7 separate regions of the Homo sapiens genome follow, and regions 1, 2, 3, 4, 5 and 7 are each linked to region 6. The links are contacts of gene promoters, found by promoter capture Hi-C in blood cells and fetal thymus (Javierre and others, 2016). All regions are on one chromosome and are shown on one strand. Each heading gives the region's core, a stretch centred on a gene start or on the middle of the fragment in contact. The rest is flanking DNA. Distances are from core to core; before and after follow the strand shown. Region 1 has its middle 10 kb from the start of NARS2. Region 2 overlaps NARS2 (asparaginyl-tRNA synthetase 2, mitochondrial). Region 3 overlaps NARS2 (asparaginyl-tRNA synthetase 2, mitochondrial). Region 4 overlaps NARS2 (asparaginyl-tRNA synthetase 2, mitochondrial). Region 5 overlaps NARS2 (asparaginyl-tRNA synthetase 2, mitochondrial). Region 6 holds the start of ALG8 (ALG8 alpha-1,3-glucosyltransferase). Region 7 overlaps CLNS1A (chloride nucleotide-sensitive channel 1A).

Region 1 (2,700 bases), core at 99-2,598, 450 kb after region 6:
GAGTAAAGAGAGACATAATTAGAACAATACTTGAAGAGATCATAGCCACGAATTTTCAAAACTGGTAAAAGACATCAAACCACAGACTCAAGAAACTCTACAAACACAAGCAGGATAAAAAACAAAAAACAAAACACTCTATTCCTAGGCACATAGTAAAACTCCTGGAAACAAAAAGAAAAGAGAAAATCTTAAAAATAGTTTCACTAAATTCAAAGGAGTAATAAATAAGACAGACAGCTGACTTTTCAAAAGCAATTATGGAACCAAAAGACAATAGTGGTATCTTTAAAATTCTGAAAGAAAATATCTGCCAACCTAGACTTCTATACCTGAGAAATATCCCTCAGTAGTGAAGGTTAAATAAAAGAGGTTTCAGATAAACAAACGCTAAGACAGTTTATTATTAGTAGACCCACACTACAGAGGTCTTCAGGCAGAAGGCAAATAATCCCAGAGAAAAGTGTGAAAACTCATGAAGGAATAAAGAACAGTGGAGGGTAAAAGTGGGTAAATCTAAACAAATATTGACTGTATAGAACAATGATAACAATGTCTTGTGAGGCTAAAAATACATATAAAATTAAATATACAACCCCAATAGCACAAAAATCAGGAAAGAGGTAAATGAAATTAAAGCATTGTAAGATCCTTGCATTGGATGGGAAATAGAAAACTAGTTTAGAGTAGATTTTTATTATATCAAGAATGTACACTGTAATAATTACTATAAACAGAAGAATGGGTAATAAATTATGGTATATTTATGTAACTAGAATCAAAATGAGTAGAATACTGCTACACACACCAATAAGGATGACACTCAGCAGGCATGGTGGCTCAAACCTGTAATCTCAGCACTTTGGGAAGCCCATGTGGGCAGGTCACTTAAGCCTAGAAGTTTGAGATCAGCCTGGGCAAAATGGTGAAACCCTGTCTCGACAAAAAAAAAAATAATAATGATAAAATAAAATAAAATAGCTGGACATGGTGGCATGTGCCTGTAGTCCCAGCTATATGGGAGGCTGAGGCAGGAGGATGGACTAAGCCCAGGAGGTCAAGGCTGCAGTGAGCTGTGTGTGTGCCACTACACTCCAGCCTGTGTGAAAGAGCAGAGCTTGTCTCAAACACACACACACACACACTCTCTCTCTCTCTCAAAAAGGAAAAAAAAGGATGACGCTCATGAACATAAAGTTGAGAGGAAAAAAAGCCAGACACAAAAGAATACATATTGTATGATTCATTTATGTAAAGTATTCTAATGGAAAAACTAATCTATAGTGATAAAAGCCAGAAAAATACTTAACTTTAGGGAAAGAGTGGGAGGAATGAAAAGGGAGGCTTCTGGGTGATGGTAATTTCTACTTCTTGATCTGGAAGGGAGGTAGATATATGGGTGTATTCACTTTGTAAACTTCATTATTTCTATGCTTTTATGTATATAAACTGTATGTTAAACTTCAATTAAAAGTTTACTTTAAAAATACTATGTTCAGGCCAGGTGCAGTGGCTCATGCCTGTATTCCTAGCACTTTGGGAAGCCGAGGCAGGAGGATGGCTTGAGGCCTGGAGTTCAAGACCAGCCTGGGTGACATAGTGAGAGCCCATTTCTGCAAAAAAAAAAAAAAAAAAAAAAATTTTAAATGAAATAGCTACGCATGGTGGTGCACACCTATAGTCCTAGCTACTCTGGCTAAGGCAAGAGGATTGCTTCAGCCTGAGAGTTCAAAGTTACAGTGAGCTATGATCATGCCACTGCACTCCAGTCTGGGCAACAGAGCAAAACTCTGTCTCTTAAAAAAAAATTATGTTGGTTGTGCAGTGAGCAGGGTAAAATAATTCTGGCTTCACCATGTACTAGCCAGGTCACTATGGGCAAGGACTTTTGCTGTCATAGGTAAGGGATGAGTTACTTCTGTGAGACGGAGATAATATTTGCCTCACAGGGTTGTCAAAATTAGCAAATGAAATAATCTATTAGACATTCCATAAGCTATGTTTATTTCATCATTAAGACCAAAGGGTATGCACTTTTATCATCCTCATTTTATAGATAAGGCAGCTGAGAGACAAGAGTTTAAGTAGGTTGCCCAGGGTCCCTTAGATGATAAACAGCAAATATTAGGATTCAAACTCTCATAGTCTGGTTCCAGAATCTTTTCTTTTGCTCACTATGTGAATGTCATAAAGACATAGATTTTTTATTTTTTATTTTTTGTTCACTGATAATTTCATATGCTTAGATCTGGCAAATCATATGACTTCATTAAAATAAACAGTACCTCACTCCTGTAATCCCAGCACTTTGGGAGGCCGAGGCAGGTGGATCATGAGGTCAGGACATCAAAACCATCCTGGCTAACACGATGAAACCCCTTCTCCACTAAAAAAACTCAAAAAATTAGCTGGGTGTGGTGGCGGGCGCCTGTAGTCACAGCTACTAGGGAGGCTGAGGCAGGAGAATCACTTGAACCCAGGAGGCGGAGGTTGCAGTGAGCTGAGATTGCGCCATTGCACTCCAGCCTGGGTGACAGAGAAAGACTCCATCTCAAAAAAAAAAAAAAAGTACCTTTCACTAAATTAAAATTAAAAAATAAAATAAAATGATGACTACTTGGCTGTAGTTTAACTGTTCTAAGAAATGTGTTTTGATGTTTTGCTATAAGATAGTACTGCCATTCATAATTTTAAATCTGC
Region 2 (2,700 bases), core at 93-2,592, 370 kb after region 6:
ATAAAAGCACAAAGGAACCATCAAAAAGTAGAAATAGGCAAACTGCTTTTACAGAAGGAGTTAGCCTATAGAAAGAATATATGAAAAATCCCTCTTCATTTTCCCTGAATTGGAGGAGTAAGAAGGAGGAGGAGGAGGAGAAGGAAGAAGAGGAAGAATGGCATGCTCTGCCATGCCAGGCCTTGTAGGCTGCATGAATACTAAAAATGAACACTCTTAATGATAGGATCATGGGATGACCTATACAAAAGGCAGAGAAACTCTGGGTTGAACTATTTGAACCGTTATCTCCAAATTCCCAAGTTACAGCCAACCCTCCACAGCTATATAGGAAATACCAGTATCATCAAATCATACATATATTTTGGCTAAGAAAACTTCTGAGATAACTCTTTCTACAGTAGTCCCTAAAATACTATCTGCCTAAAATTCAAATTTTTCCACTGAACTTCACACCATATTGTCCTAAAGGAGAATCAGGAGGAAAGCCCAGAATAATTACCCAGTTGAAGAAACTAAATAAAAGTCCCTAAAGAATGTTCCAGAAACAAAAAACAAGTCTCTACCTCCTGATCTTTATCCTAATTCACATGCTAAATCCACCTCTTAAATGTGAAATAAGGCTGGCTTGGGTTTTGCATATTCTCCAACTGTAAAGATCTATGTGACACATGTCTGTTTATCCGTCCCTTACACCTGTTTCATGTGGCAAAACACCAGTTTTTTTTTTTTTTTTTTTTTTCTGTGTAGGGTATATGTGGGAAATAAAATAGGAATTGACATCAAAATAAATAAAACTAATGTGGCTAGCAACGAATACATGTGACTAAGCTTATTTGTTATCAGCTTTTACTTGTGAGAGGGAAGGAAAACCATGACTGAATTTATTGGCAATTTTTTCTAAAGGAGCAAAGATAAAATTTCCTTTTATTTTCTGTAAAACACATACAAACACACATACACATATTATTTTTTCCTACAGTCTTTGTTACAGCACATCTTCTACAGCCTATGAGGCATTTCTATTAAGTGGTTCCCTAAAAACAAGCAAATATAACACCGGTGAAGAGAGAAATTTAATCTGTTCGTATCTATCAACTTTAGGGTGATCACAGGTCTTGGTTTGCCCAGGAAAAAACCATTTTATGCTGACTGCTCCAGAATAACTGTTATCAGCCCTCCCTTTCACTCTTTAAAGTGTCCTTGTTTAGATGCCCCAGCTCTGCCCCCAGAACTGCACTTAAGGTTGTTAGTGGGTTTCAGTGAAGTAAAATACACGGAAATGTTTCCGTGGTTTCTATAATTCATGCACACAGTTCACAGGTAAATTTTTACAATTTTGACTTAAAAAAAAAAAAACCACTAAATTTTCTGAATTCATAGCAAGAGAAATTCACACCCACTGCATGAAAATGTAAAATGAAGCCAGGAGTGGTAGCTCATGTCTGTAGTTCCAACAGTTTGGGAGACTGAGGAGGGAGGATCACTTCACCCTAGGAGTTTGAGACCAGCCTGGGCAACATAATGAAACCTTGTCTCTTAAAGAAAACAAAATACACACACACACACACACACACACACACACACACACACACACACACACACACACATACGTATGTATATATCTTATGTTAAAAGAGAAAAAGAAATTTCAGTTTCACATAATAAGGGTACTTTAAGATATCCTAACAGATCCAATAGCATAGTATTTCAAGTTTTTAAATGCATTTTCTGATGGAGTTTTTTTTTTTTAACTGATTTTTCCCCCCAACTAGAATATACTGGTGAACTAAATCAAAAGCATGGAAGTAATTCAAGCTCACAGGTTATAGCAGCAAAGAAGGAATGGATACAGAAGCTTAGGGCCTAGCTATCTGTCTGTATCTTATCATCATTATCTACCTGAAGTCATATTGATTTATTCATTCAACAAATATTTATTAGACTACTAATCACTGTGGAAAATACAGAGGTAAATCAGGTATGGCCTGTACCTTCAAAAAGTTTATAGACTAGCAGGGTCTTCCCTGACCTAAAAATACAAGCTAAGATATAAAATCCCTAGGAAAAAACATGGAAGAAAAATGTTGGCAATCTTTTGGACAGGATAAAGAAATTCATGAACCACATAAGAAAAAGACTATAATACACTAACAGAATAAGAAGCTTCTGGTCTTCAAAAAAACTATTTTAAAATGGAAAGAAAAGGCAGACTGGGGAAAAAAAGTACACCACCTATATCTGATAAAGGGCTTGTATCCAGAATATATAAAGAACTCTTACAACCCAATAATAAAACAAACAACCTAGTAAAAATTGGATGAAAAAAATTGAAAAGATAGTTCAAAAACAAGATATATGAACAGCCAGTAAGCACATGAAAAAAATGTTCAACAGTACTGGTCACTACAGAAATACAATTTAAAACCACAATGACATATCCTATACTCACTAGAATGACTATAATTAAAAATACGACATCATCTTTTGTCAAAGACGTGGACCAACCGGCATCCTCATCCACTGCTAGCGGGCATGTAAATAATACAATTACTTCAGCAAATTACTTGGTAGATTCTTACAAAGTTAAGCATTAACTTAATTCCTAGTTATTTACCCAAGGGAAATAAAAACATATGTCCACACACAGACTCCTGCATGAATTTTCAGAGAGCTTCATCATCACAATAGCTCCACACG
Region 3 (2,700 bases), core at 162-2,661, 400 kb after region 6:
AGACGCGTGGAGTCTAATATTAGAGGGTAAGGTTGAGGCAAAACAGAAAGTGAATATACAATGCTGCCTTATTTTTCTTTTACAGGAGATAAACACAAATGTAAAATTGCAAAACAGCAAACTTATTCCTAAATGTAAAGGGGTCGGTGAAAAATGAACCAAACTTTTTTTCACTATTGCTTGAAAAATATTAATTTTGGCTTATTCATTGTCAGATTGGGGCTTTAAGGATGAATATGATAAGATATGGTCCTAGTCCGTTAACTAGGACTTCTGTGAGAAGGGATACCTATGCTCCAGAGTTAAGTCTCCAAACCACGTATCCACACAAAGGACTTGACTACCACTAAACACAGCAGGTACTCAATAAATACTTATAAATCCCAGCACTTCGGTGGGGTGGAGGCAGGAGGATTGCTTGAGACCAGGAGTTCAAGACCAGCCTGAGCAACATAGTGAGACCCTGACTCTACTTTAAAAATTAGCTGGGTGTGGTGGTGCGCACCTGTAGTTTTAGTAACTCTAGAGGCTGGAGTGGGTGGATCACTTGAGCTCAGGAGGTCAAGGCTGCAGACAGCCATGATCGCTGGCTCATCACTGCACTCCCAACAGGGCGACAGAGCGAGACCTTGGGTCAAAACAAACCCCCCCACAAAATATACTTTCTTGCAGTTGCTGCAAGGAGGAAGTTAAGTTATTGATAACTGGAACAGAAGGGCTTGGTTGCCCTTTACCTCTGGCTGTGGTAATCAAGAGTAAGTTAGCCAAGTACGGTGGTGGGTGCCTGTAATCCCAGCCACTAGGGAGGCTGAGGCACAAGAACTGCTTGAACCCAGGAGGCAGAGGTTGCAGTGGGCTGAGATGGTGCCACTGCACTCTAGCCTGGGCAACAGAGCAAAACTACGTGTCAAAAAAAAAGAATAAGCCATTATAAAGCATACTCATATAAAAGTCACGATTTTGATGCTATCCAAAGATTATCCAAAAGGGATTCACATCATTTTTTGAGATCAAAGTGTCTCTTGAAGTCAACAATGCCATGGAATGCTTCCTTCAAAGATGGCATGCATAAAATAAATGTCTAATTTCCAACAAAAACCAATTTCCCCTAATAATTAGATGGTATTGGCCCTAAAGAGTATAAACTCAAAAAACTTTCCAGTGTTTATGAAGCTGACATTTTCTTTTCATTTATGATTACTTGAATTCTAATGTCCAGACTAGCAACATGAAAGTTCATGTTTTTTAAAAAGAAGAAACGCTACTTTTCTACTTTTAATTAGCAATGGAAATAACCATTTGTAGGAAAAAAAATAATTCTCTCTATATTAAAAGTTCAAAAGTCTAGCAGAGGTGAACTATTCAACATAATCACTTCTGGGAAAATACACAGCAGGAATAGATACAACAAAAACAAAAAACATGTACCCTGGTACCAAGATCCAAGATGCATAAGCTACTTTCTAAATATATCCAGAATCCGGCCAGGCAGAGAGGCTCATGGCTGTAATCCTAGCACTTTGGGAGGCCAAGGCGGGCAGACCACGAGGTCAAGAGATTGAGACCATCCTGGCCGACATGGTGAAAACCCGTCTCTACTAAAACTACAAAAATTAGCTGGGCGTGGTGGCGCGCACCTGTAGTCCCAGCTACTCGGGAGGCTGAGGCAGGAGAATCGCTTGAACCCGGGAGGTGGAGCCAAGATTGTGCCACTGCACTCTAGCCTGGCAACAGAGTAAGACTCTGTCTCAAAAAAAAAAAAAAAAAAAAAACTCTCTCTCACTCTCCAGAATCCAACCACATTTGAGGATGTACAATTTCAACTCCTGTGTAAATCACTATCTGTCCACCTAAAATACAGCATTAGACTTTTAACTGGTTTCTCTTCTTCTGTACCTCTCCCTGATTTAATCTCCATATAGCAGCCAGAATGATCTCATTAAAATATAAGTGATTTATTACTCCTTTGCTTATAACTCTCCAAAGACTCACAGCCAATATTCTTATAATGGCCTAAAAAGTCCTTTTTAGAGGGAATGTTTCTGGTTGTCATAACTGGGGAGAGCTACTGAAATTTAGTGGGTACTACCCCAAGTTTCAAATATGCAATGGAACATTCATGTTAGTGAATTAGGTAAATTGTATTATTTTAATATGCTCTGAATTTTCCAGAATGCATCTTCCATGTAAATCAAGGGAAAGCTAATACTTTCATGCGGAACTCTTATCAAGAATGAGTTACCGGCTGAGCGCAGTAGCTCATGCCTGTAATCCCAGCACTTGGGAGACTGAGGCAGGCAGATCACTTGAGGTCAGGAGATCGAGACCATCCTGGCTAACACGGTGAAACCCCGTCTCTACTAAAAATACAAAAAATTAGCCAGGCGCGGTGGTGGGTGCCTGTAGTCCCAGCTACTCGGGAGGCTGAGGCAGGAGAACGGCGTGAACCTGGGAGACGGAGTTTGCAGTAAGCCAAGATCGTGCCACTGCACTCCAGCCTGGGCGATAGAGCGAGACTCCGTCTCACAAAAAAAAAAAAAAAAAAAAAAAGGATACAGAAAATTAGCTGCGCGTGGTGGTGGGCACCTGTAATCCCAGCTACTCAGGAGGCTGAGGCAGAAGAATTGCTTGAACACGGGAGGCAGAGGTTGCAGTGAGGTGAGATCGCGCCACTGCACTCCAGTATTCTCATCACAAATA
Region 4 (2,788 bases), core at 289-2,788, 390 kb after region 6:
AGGTCGTAAAAAAGAAAAATTGAGAAACTGTAATAGAATGGAAGAGACTGGGGAAACATGACAACTAAGTTTTATGTGGTACCCTGAATTGGATCCTGGAAAAAGAATAAGGGTATTGATGGAAAAGCTGGTGAAATCCAAATAAAGTCTAGAGCTTCATTAATAGTAATGTGATAACATTTAATTCTTGGTTTTGACAAATGTATCATGGTCATGGAAGATGTTTACAATGGGGGAAACTGGATAGAGAATACACAAAACTATGCATTATCTTTTCAACTTTCTATATATTAAAAATTATTCCAACATAGAATATTTACTTTAAAAAAAGCTTTAAAATGGAACCATAAACCCACTAAAGCAACAGAGATATCCTTTTGGAAAATGTTAACTGTCTAAATTTAACTACCATTTTCTCCATTTTAAAAGTCTGTTAATACTCTGGTTTCTCTTCAGATTGCATAAATCTTTTGCCTTTTACAAAGTCTGTTAAATTGAATTCAAGAAAAAACAAAGCTGAGGGAAAAAGGACTAACAATTTCTTATTGGAGAATAAATCATACTTTAATCAAAAACATTATGTTCTGCATATTAATAGTCCTAGAACTGTGCATATTAAACTAGGAACATTTGAATGACAGTAGTACAAATACTTCATGGCACACTAAAAAATACAAAACCTAGTATTCTACCAATTTAATCTTCCGTCAAGTTTCACAGAACACTGTGTTCTGTGGTTCACTGCGCTTTACTGGGAAAGAGGCATATTTAATACACTAGTGGTATTATAATAGAGAAACAAACATTTGCTAAGTTTATATATTTCACATATGACACTTCTGAGGGATGAGACACCTTGCTTCTAACTTTATAAATAATAGAAATGAATACTAAAAGGCTGTTAAGAAAGGTTATCCAAACCTTGAATATAAGGCCAAAAGCTGTAGCCTTAAAAAGGTGATGTCCTTTCAAGGTATTACACAATGAGGGGACAAAGGCCCATTCGACGATTACTTAATTACTTAGGGAAAGGGAAATGTACTTGTTCCATTAGTCTATTTAATATTGAATTAAATAACCCGTATTAAGTGAAGTTACACGCTAATTTACAGATCTTTCCCAGCAGAGTTGCAAATAACTCTACCAGGTAGAAGAGATAATCCCAAAGTTTAGGGTGTGTTGGTCCTGTAGGACATTAACCAGTTTATAACTGACCTAGCACTCTTATTCCAACTATTAAAATGTCTATAAATACAGAGGTCTTCAGATGCTCTTTGAAACAGTTTTCTATTTTACTTGTTTCCTCTGTAATATAATCAACTGAATGAAAACTTTGATACAAATTCATTTTGTATTTGAATGAGTCATGTTTTTAATTTTTTTAAATTATAATTCCGTAGGCATAAGAACATTCCATGACAGGCTTGACACGGCCTTTCCTACATCCAGATCTGCAAATCCTATAATCTCACCATGTTATTATGACACTTTTTCTGCATAGTATTCTGCTAATATTGCCAGTCATTTGGTTATTGGAACTATCAAATAACATATTTTTGTTTCAAAGATAAATCAGAAAAGAACATGTTACTTTCAAGACCATCTTTATTCCACCACTGACTTTCCATTCTTCTAGCAAAGTACAAAAGTAAATATGCAAACTATTCTATTACATTTTCCTTGAGTTTTCTCATCTGTGCATTTTTAAAACAATGGAAAACACCAAAAGATTCCCTTCCTTTCAAGTGAGCTATTTCCAGAAAAGATTTTTTTAAGTCCTAATCTCTATAATGAGAAAATATTTAAAGAAAAAGATACATAAAGAAAACTCAGTACTTGATGAGTCTGCATTAACAAATTACCCCCAGAGGCCAGGCTCAGTGGCTCCTGCTTGTAATCCCAGTGCTTTGGGAGGCTGAGGCGGAAGAACCACTTGAGTCAAGAGTTTGAGACCAGCCTAGGACACATGGTGAGAACCCACCTCTACAAAAAATTTTAAAAATTAGCTAAGTGTGCTGGCACATGCCTTGAGTTCCAGTTACTTGGGAGGCCTAAGGCAGGAAGATCACTTGAGCCTAGAGTTTGAGATCAGCCTTGGTACATAGCAAGACCCCATCTCTACAAACAATTAGCCAGGTTTGGTGGTATATACCTGTAGTCCCAGCTACTCAGAAGGCTGAGGCAGGAGAATCACTTGAGCCCAGGAGTTTGTGAGCTATGACTGTGCAACTACACTCCAGCCTGGGCAATAAGCGAGATCCCACCTCTAAAAAAAATAAAAATAAATGGGAATTACCCACAGAATTACAGAATATAAGATTTAGACAGGATTTTAAAGGTCTTCTTTCTCAATCCCGTTTTAAAGAAAAGGTAGGCCCCAAGGAATACAGTGACTTTCCAGAGGTCTGACAGTTGCTAAAATTCATTTGATCTGACTTAAAAGATGTAATTTGCTGTACACCTCTCAAAATGTAGGTATGAGTTAATTTTATTTAAACCAATTACTGAAAAAAAAATTATTCCGTCTGTTTCAAATACTACTCTCTTTAAAATGAAATAGACTAATACCCGGTTCAGGTATAAACTATAAATTGCCTTTACTTCCATAAATATGATTAATTTAAATAAATTCTGATTACATGTTTGGGATTCAAGCAAGAAAAATTAGTAAAAAGAAAAAAATGACAACTTTGTATTTTCAGTGTTACATTTTTCACTAAAAACAAAAGTCTGTACTACAAGTAAGAAGCTTAAATATTTTGGAAAATTCAAGTGAACTAATGATAAA
Region 5 (2,752 bases), core at 223-2,722, 340 kb after region 6:
CCCTCCAGCTTCCCTACCCTACACCCTGAGAATCCTCAGCATCACACCAACTGTCCATATCACTCTGGTGTTTGGTTCCTTCTTCATTTCTAGCACCTGGAACTTCTCCTACTTTCTAGTGAATTCAACAACGTATTTAAAAGAATCTTATAATATTTTAAGTATTATTTTTAGATGTTTTGCAGAAAGAGTGTTTTCAAATTACCTAGTCTGACATATTGCTTTTAACAGTATTGTCATTAAATCCTTTCAACAATATAAGGCAGAGTATTTTTTTATAGATGAGGAAACTGAAGTTCAGAAAAGTTAAAGATTCACTATTAATCAAGTTCATAGTCGTAATTACATTATTCATATAAATATTTAACTGTTCATCTTTTTCTCTAGATTTTCAACTCCATAAAAAAATAAATCAATGTTTGTTTTCATTATTCTCAAGAACTAGCAAAGTGCCTAACTCATATTAGGCAGTCAATAAATATTTGTTAAAAAATAATAATTTACTCATTAATGGCTAGTAAATGGTAGGGCCAGGATTAGAATCCAGGTTTTCTGAATCATGGTTCACTACCCTCAGTGACTGAAATAAATAGTGATATTAGCCAATAAGAAACCTCAGGAGAGGATCCAGCCTAAAGAATACCTTTACAGCCACAGTTACTCAAGTCACTTGTTTGTCCACTCAATTACTCAGTATTTACTGAGTTCCTGTTAAAGGCACTGGGCTAAGTCCTGGGGGTATAAGAGTAAGCAATTTAAACATAGCCTCTGACATCACAGAGGTAGTAGATACCAATCAAATAATCACACATATACATTTATTTAAAAATGTCTGAATTTTTAATTGACAAATATTTTATGTATTTACAGGATACAATGTGTTTTTGGTATTATACACTGTGGGATGAATATATCAAGGTAATTAACATATCTATCGTCTCACATGCTTCACTTTTTTTTTTGCAGTGAGAAGATTTAAAATCTACTCCTTTAGCAATTTTGAGATATACATTACAATTAATTATGGTCACTTTGTTATGCAATAAATCCTGAACACTTATTCCTCTGGTCTAACTGAAACTTTGTACCCCTTGGACAATTTCTTTCCATTCCCTTCAAGAACCCCTCACCGGCCACTGGTAACTACCATTCTACTCACTACTTCTGTAGTGTTAACTTTATTACATTTCACATCAAAGTGAATCATGCAGTATTTGTCTTTCTGTGCCTAGCTTCTTTCACTTAGCATTAAGTCTTCCAGGTTGATCCATGCTGTCACAAATAAGATTTCCTTTGAATAGTATTCCACTGTGTATATATATACACATTTACTTTATCCAGTCACCTACTGATGGACACTTAGGTTGATTCCATATCTTGGCTACTATGAATAGTGCTGCAAAGAACATGTAAGTGCAGATATCTCTTTGACATACTGACTTCAGTTCTGCATATGTACCCAGAGGTAGGATGGCTGAATCATATGGTAAATATACTTTTGGTTTTTTGAGAAACCTCCCATACTATCCTCCATAATAGCTCTACTAATTTACATTGCCACTAACAGTTATAAAAGGGTTCCCAAGCGCCACATCTTTGCCAACACCTGTTATCATTTGACTTTTTTTTTTTTTTTTTTTTTTTTTTTTTTGAGACAAGGTCTTGCTCTGTCTCCCAGGCTGGAGTGCAGCAGCGTCTGTGATCATAGCTCACTGAAAACTCAACCTCCTGGGCTTAGGCAATCCTCCCACCTTAGTCTCCTGAGTAGCTGGCACTACAGGCACATGTCACCACACCTGACTAATTTATTTATTTATTTTTTGTAGAGACAGGGTCTCACTAAGTTGGCCAGGGTGGTCCTGAACTCCTGGGTTCAAGTGATCCTCCCACCTCAGCCTCCCAAAGTGCTGAGACTACAGGCATGAGCCAACGTGTCTCATTCTACTTTTTGATAACAGCCATTCTAACAGGTGTGAGTGGTTATCTCAGTGCGGTTTTAATTTGCATTTTATTGATTAGTGATGTTGGACACTTTTTGATAAACCTATTGGCCATCTGTATCTTACACAAATGTAAAACATTTGTGATGTCTGCCTGCCTGAGCAAAGCATGGGGGTGGATGCTGAGGCTAGGTGGGGTGGCTGCCCTGTAGGGGCTCAAACCAGATAGACTTTCCTACTGAGCTTCTGCAGCAACCAGCTAGGCTTTGTAAATGGGCTATGCCACTGGCTGGTATCTCTGATCAGGTGCTACTGCTGGCAGGAACACAGCTATGACTAAGATCCGTGTACTGGTTGCTGTGAGCACTGCCCCACTCCTTTGTTCCTACTTGACCCCTGGTAGTCTAGGCCTTACCCCCAGGGTTCCCTGTGAGACAGGAATGGGCCTCCTAGGAAGCATCACAGAATGCTGGGGAAACTGGATAGCTGTCTCTTTTTCCACTGCATTAACTGTGTGCCAAGGGGAATCTTCTGTGTGTGGTATTGTGCCTACTTAGGGAAGGGAGGATTCAGTCAAACTGAGACCATTGCTCCTACCCTTCTAATGCACTTTTTGCTCTGTGGTCCATCTGCGTGTCTCAATTTCATTCCCAAATTTTGGGATTTTCAAAAAGGTGTTCTTGTATGTGACTAGTTGCCAAATGGACTTTCTGTGGTGAAGGCTGGGACCCTCTATTCATCATCTTGCTGATGTCCCTCTCCCCACAAATTTAAACTGCAACTATGATTTGTAGTATGCAGAATGGATTATG
Region 6 (2,700 bases), core at 46-2,545:
AGAGTGGGACGAGACTGTCTCAAAAAAAAAAAAAATAACAAACAAAAAAAACAACTCTGAGGATACATTTCTAGCCTGAGGCAACTAAAGCAAGAAATAATCTTATGCACAGACCTACAGTTAATCATTTTACTGAATCTACATATACATTCCACTTACATGATTACATATACGCATCAGTATGGACTTACATTCTATACATATGACTCTCCCATATTCAACAAGAGATCACCAAGAGCCTGAATCAAAGGATACCAATAAAACAAACCCTAAACTAGGAAGTGGGAGGGAAAGGAGAAAAGGGATGAGGGAGAAAAAGAAAAAAGAGGAAGGATGAAGGGAAGGCGGAAGCCAATATTAATAAATACTGAGTACCTACTGTATACACACCACCATTTCATGGTTGCTTCTTGGTTTCCACGCTTTCAGTCTTGGCCCTACATCCATTTTTTACACAGCAGTCTAACTGTGGTCTTCGAAACCCTGTGTTATCTGTCCCCAGTGCACCCCATGCTGTGCCACTCCTCTCCCTCAATGCTCTGCAGCCACAAGGGGCACTTTCTGTTCCTAGAATGCTCTGACTTCTTTCCTGCCACAGGGCCTTTGAACTTACTCTTTCCTATGCCTGAACTGCTTTCCACATCACTTATTCTTTTTCATTTTTTGAATTTCAACTCAAACATCACCTTCTAAAGGAATAGCGCACAGCCACTTAGTAACCCTCTATTTCCTTTATCACAATCTGAAAAGTTCCTGTTTGTCTAGCTCCACCCACCAACTTCGAGGGCAAGGACCAGCAATGTCTTGCTCACCACCGCATCTCCCGGGAGTTAGAACGGTACCTGGCACCTCAGGCATCTGATAATACTGGCTGAATGGCTGTTGGAGGCAGAGGTTCTTAACTGCCTATTAAGGATGAGGACCCTGAGGTTCAGAAACGTTAAAGTGATTTGTTCCAAATCAGACAGCGCCAGGTCTGAACCTAGCCAGCTGGGGCTAAGTCAAGTAACAACTGGCGAAACAGAAAGCTTAGCAAAGGCAGGATAGCGACAAACACGACCTAAAGTTTTCTCTTCATACCCAGGGATATCCACACCTTTCTCTCCCGCCCTGACCGACCGCGGGGCCTCCCCGCCCAGCCCCTGGCCGTGCGAGTCCCTTACTATGTGGGGATGAGAAGGCATTTGAGAAGAGTCACCCCGAGCGCCAAAGCCGAAAACCAATTGCCAGTACCCGTGGCAATTGTGAGCGCCGCCATTGCTGCGGCACCGCACGCTTCCCACCAACTTGATCCACATCCGGGATCCCGCGCATGCGGAGAAAGCCCTCTGAAGCCGTGCCCGCTAGCTGCGCGCATGCGGCGAGCGGCGCAGCCAGTCCGGGGACTGCAGTCAGCTATTTAAACCTCCCGCCCACCTTTTCTTTAGACCCGCGTCTCACCCCGGGCCGGAAGGGCTCCTGCGCAGGCGTTTGTAGCCACTTTTAAGTTTTATCAGCTAGTTCATGCTTGCGTTGAAAGAGTGGTCGTTTGCGCTGGGTCATCACTGTGTAGTATTGGGGATACTTAGGTGAGAAAAAAACTTAACGCTAGAGACGTTCACGCACTAGTGGAGAAGCCAGGATTGTTGCCCTAGAGTTACAGTAGATAAAAGTACCTCAGAGAACTGCGGGGGCTCCCAACCTGGACGCTTGCACCGGAGTATTAAATCCAGCTAGAGAATGGCATGTGCAAAGATACAGAGGTGAGAAACATTGTGTTTTTAGAACTCTGAGCGAGGCTCTTGGCTCACCTCCTGCTTGAGCGGAACCCATTCTGGAAGCAGGGTAGAGGCTAGTCCTAACGCTTAGTGTACAAATAGCCTACGGTTCATGTTAAAATAATTCGGATTCTGATTCAGTAGGCCCAACAAACTCGCAGATTGCGTAATGACTGAGGCACATGCAATTTAATTAGGCTTGTCTCATTATTTTACTGTATGATCTTGGACAAACTAAACTCTAAACCTCAGTTTCTTTTTTTAAAATTTTTATTTATTTATTTATTTTTGAAAATAGGAGATAAAAATGGTTTCTGGCCGGACGCGGTGGCTCACGCCTGTAATCCCAACACTGGGAGGCCGAGGTGGGCGAATCACCTGAGTTCAGGAGTTTGAGATCAGCCTGGCCAATATGGTGAAACCCTGTCTCTACTAAAAATTAAAAAAAAATTAGCCGTGCATGGTGGCGGGCGCTTGTAATTCCACCTACTCGGGAGGCTGAAGCTAGAGAATCGCGTGAACGTGGGAGGCGGAGGTTGCAGTGAGCTGAGATCGCGCCATTGCACTTCAGCCTGGGCAAGCCTCAGGCCTGTTTATCCAAGATGCTTTTGGTCTAAAAAAAAAAAAGTTTCAGCCTCATAAACTGGTTGTGAGGATTAAATGAGAATGCATGTAAATTGCTTGATATGATTCCAGGACAGAATAAATGCTCAATAATGTGTCAGATCAGTTAATTATCTTGCTGAAAGATGCACAGCAAGTAGGTGACAGTGTCACCTCCCTAATATGAGTTTATGCCCTCCCACAGCTTCAGCTGCCACCCATGTGAATATGATTCACAGATTTCTAGCTCAGCACTCTTCTCTCACTTTCAGACCCTGGTCTCCAGTTGGCTACCTGACCTCACGTAGATGTTTTTGTTTTGTTTTTGAGAGACAGGGTC
Region 7 (2,796 bases), core at 191-2,690, 510 kb before region 6:
TGGAGTTGACTGACAAGAGCAAGGTTTCGCATTTCTGCAAATGAATGAATGCTTTAAACTAAACATGACACATAATATTCTTGGTTATAAAATCATAGTTGCATTTACTTAGATGGAGAGTAAATTTTGTGCCAAATGCCTTATTAGGAAGTCTTACTACACTACTACACCCCAAGGTTAACAGCCTTTTACTTTTCCTCATCCTCTTTTTCAAACTTCACTAGATTTTTAAATGTCTTTGAACCTTTTCCAATGGCAAGAATTTGAAATCTTATAACAAAAATATTTTCAGATAGCTGAATCAGTCATTACCACTTAATGAGGCAGGTCTTGCCAAAAGTCCTAAGAATTACTAAATAGTTTCACACCTGAATATAAATGATCATATTATATCTGGAACCATATTAAAATCTAAATTTGAAAGAGCAATAGCCTTGTAGGTAACTTCATAGGATTGTCTCTTACACACTACTTCAAAGAAAAGCAACCCGTTATTTTAAACATGAGCATCTTCACTAGACTTTTACAAGTCTTTGCAATTATCCCAAAGCAAAACTTGAGAATCTTTATATCCTACAGTTTCTCAACCTTGGCACTACTGACATTTGGATGGAATAATTCTTTGTTGTGGGGGACCATCTGTGCATAGCAGAATATTTAGTATAATAATAGCATCCTTGGCATCTAACTGCTAGACACCAATAATACCCTTCCTCTTTCAACCAAAATGTCACTGCCAAATGTGGGGGAATGGTGAGGTTGGTGGAGGCCCATGGAAAATATATCCCCCCTACAACCACTGAGACCCACTACTGAAACAAAACAAAACAGTTCTATCTTAAATTATGAGAAGCACAGGGTATACTGATCCAAGCCCCTAAGGGTGCCTTTTAAAAAGAGAAAGGCAGAATAAACAGTGAAACTTTAGAGGAAAAGCTAGAAATACATATCCATAATAAATGAAGAATTCTAAGTGTAAATATAGAGAAATATATACAGACACACATGAACATCCATTGTGAAAACTTCAAGTGTCCAAGTTGCTGTGCTGAAATTTTGCTTAATAAACTACTACCCAAAATGAGTCAATGGCCTCAATGTTACATTGATTATTATCAAAGACTCTTTTTTTTCTTTTTTTTTTTTTAGACGGAGTCTCACTTTGTCGCCCAGGCTGGAGTGCAGTGGCATGATCTCGGCTCACTACAAGCTCCACCTCCCAGGTTCACACCATTCTCCTGCCTCAGTCTCCTGAGTAGCTGGGACTACAGGCGCCCACCACCACGCCTGGCTAATTTTTTGTATTTTTTAGTAGAGACGGGTTTTCACCGTATTAGCCAGGATGGTCTCGATCTCCTGACCTTGTGATCCGCCCGCCTCGGCCTCCCAGAGTGCTGGGATTACAGGCGTGAGCCACCGTGCCCGGCCTCAAAGACTCTTTTTTAAAATATAATTTGCTATCAAAGGAGGCATTAGATTAAATTACACCATACATACCTTCAAATTTGGCATTCACCATAACATACAAATGCTCTCCTAGACAGTCACTTCGGTCCCTGGATAATGCATGTAAACTAATGGTGGGGTATTCCAGTGAGAATCCTAATCCAGAGCCATCTAACCAAGACAGGCGGCTGAAAAACATGTTTTAAGTAGATTATTTTTAGAAAGTAAATCCTCATGTAAGACCACAAAGTATATAAAAGTTCAGCTTGGACACCTTTATGCATATAAATAAATTCAAGTTTACTTTTTTAGAAACGTTCATAAAATAAGAAAATTCAGTAGTGGAAACTGAGTTTTCTTTAAGATCAATTCTGTTACGGTCTCTTTCCCTCTAGCTATAAATTCAAACAGACTTGAAATTCCATTTTCCTCAGTCACATGTATGTTTCTATGACTTTCATGCTTACTCTTTTTTGGTATGTCTTCAAATACCCTCTTTGCTTTTGCAAATCCTCCCCTCTTCCATGAGGCCTCCCTTCAACTACACCAGTCCATAAAGATCTCTTCCTTTTCTGATTTGCAAATTTTAGCACTTAACTCTGTGGTAATGAGTCTTATATGTGCCCTTATGGAATGTGAACTATCGGACAGCAGAACTTGTCACATTCCTTTATTAACATCCTTCAAAACCGTTAACAAAGAGCTCAGGAGTTAAGTATGCAATAAATCCTTGGTAATCATGCATTTCTCCATGAATCCTACACTAAAAGACATATATATGAAATGGCTGTAATCACACTCACCGCAAGTCAGGAAATAATTATTACCCTGAGAGACAGATTCCCTGAAGCCTTTCATTTATTCAACGTCTTTAAGAGAAAGCCACAGAAAAGCTAGATCTAGTTTTCCCTCAAATGTGGTCAAATGCAAATATTTTATTGGTGTAACAAAGGAAACACATCACCAAAATCAGTATTTTGAGCTTTCAGTAGAGGCTAGCTAATTTTCTGATAATACTTCATCCATCTGGAGCTGTACCACTTAGCAGAAAAAAAGTAAAAAATCCTGAAGAAGTCAAAAAAAAAATGTTAATGCAATATAGTGGTTGCCTAGGGCTAGAAGGAAATAGGGAATGTCTGCTACTGGGTACCAGGTTCTTTTTGGGGTGAAGAAAATATTCTAAAATGGTGGTGATAATTGCACAATTCTGTAAACAGACTAAAAACTAGTGAATTGTATGTTTAAATGGTTAAACTGTATGCTATATGAATTATTTTTAAAAGTTAATGAAGTAAGACCCCTGTATCATTCTATATTCTATACAATTTTAACAAGCCTGGCTGTCTAATT

Evidence for each region. The method cuts DNA at HindIII sites, captures the fragments that hold promoters and counts their contacts. A CHiCAGO score of 5 or more calls a contact.
Region 1: a contact is called between a fragment that was not itself captured here and the fragment with the promoter of ALG8 in region 6, in 6 of 17 cell types (monocytes, fetal thymus, neutrophils and 3 more). The highest score is 11.6, in monocytes.
Region 2: a contact is called between a fragment that was not itself captured here and the fragment with the promoter of ALG8 in region 6, in 4 of 17 cell types (megakaryocytes, fetal thymus, erythroblasts and 1 more). The highest score is 6.2, in megakaryocytes.
Region 3: a fragment that was not itself captured here is called in contact with the fragment with the promoter of ALG8 in region 6 in 1 of 17 cell types (naive B cells); the score reaches 5.8 in naive B cells.
Region 4: a contact is called between a fragment that was not itself captured here and the fragment with the promoter of ALG8 in region 6, in 5 of 17 cell types (monocytes, naive CD4 T cells, total B cells and 2 more). The highest score is 7.1, in monocytes.
Region 5: a fragment that was not itself captured here is called in contact with the fragment with the promoter of ALG8 in region 6 in 1 of 17 cell types (naive CD4 T cells); the score reaches 6.0 in naive CD4 T cells.
Region 7: a fragment that was not itself captured here is called in contact with the fragment with the promoter of ALG8 in region 6 in 1 of 17 cell types (activated CD4 T cells); the score reaches 5.8 in activated CD4 T cells.

The regions. Positions count from the first base shown.
Region 1 is chr11:78,583,896-78,586,595 of GRCh38, forward strand. No RefSeq gene overlaps it. Among named protein-coding and RNA genes, the nearest start is that of NARS2, 10 kb to the left of the region's middle. The HindIII fragment of the contact is 6,128 bases long and covers 1-2,700 here.
Region 2 is chr11:78,503,715-78,506,414 of GRCh38, forward strand. The region is part of intron 6 of NARS2 (asparaginyl-tRNA synthetase 2, mitochondrial); the gene reads right to left. Among named protein-coding and RNA genes, the nearest start is that of NARS2-AS1, 28 kb to the right of the region's middle. The HindIII fragment of the contact is 1,027 bases long and covers 830-1,856 here.
Region 3 is chr11:78,542,269-78,544,968 of GRCh38, forward strand. The region is part of intron 5 of NARS2 (asparaginyl-tRNA synthetase 2, mitochondrial); the gene reads right to left. The region is part of intron 1 of NARS2-AS1 (NARS2 antisense RNA 1); the gene reads left to right. Among named protein-coding and RNA genes, the nearest start is that of NARS2-AS1, 10 kb to the left of the region's middle. The HindIII fragment of the contact is 4,377 bases long and covers 1-2,700 here.
Region 4 is chr11:78,525,959-78,528,746 of GRCh38, forward strand. All of the region lies in intron 6 of NARS2 (asparaginyl-tRNA synthetase 2, mitochondrial), which reads right to left. Among named protein-coding and RNA genes, the nearest start is that of NARS2-AS1, 5.8 kb to the right of the region's middle. The HindIII fragment of the contact is 2,418 bases long and covers 330-2,747 here.
Region 5 is chr11:78,473,960-78,476,711 of GRCh38, forward strand. The region is part of intron 9 of NARS2 (asparaginyl-tRNA synthetase 2, mitochondrial); the gene reads right to left. All of the region lies in intron 1 of LOC105369403 (a long non-coding RNA gene), which reads left to right. Among named protein-coding and RNA genes, the nearest start is that of LINC02728, 46 kb to the left of the region's middle. The HindIII fragment of the contact is 8,270 bases long and covers 1-2,752 here.
Region 6 is chr11:78,138,331-78,141,030 of GRCh38, forward strand. ALG8 (ALG8 alpha-1,3-glucosyltransferase) reads right to left here and starts at 1,296. Exons shown (of 13, transcript NM_024079.5): 1 at 1,164-1,296. The coding sequence starts at 1,258. It overlaps KCTD21-AS1 (KCTD21 antisense RNA 1), which reads left to right and starts at 1,463. Exons shown (of 3, transcript NR_102281.1): 1 at 1,463-1,742. RefSeq lists enhancers at 879-988, 1,069-1,148, 1,759-1,868, 2,029-2,700. The HindIII fragment of the contact is 5,506 bases long and covers 1,027-2,700 here.
Region 7 is chr11:77,628,266-77,631,061 of GRCh38, forward strand. CLNS1A (chloride nucleotide-sensitive channel 1A) reads right to left here. Exons shown (of 7, transcript NM_001293.3): 2 at 1,498-1,634. Among named protein-coding and RNA genes, the nearest start is that of CLNS1A, 8.1 kb to the right of the region's middle. The HindIII fragment of the contact is 4,039 bases long and covers 1-2,796 here.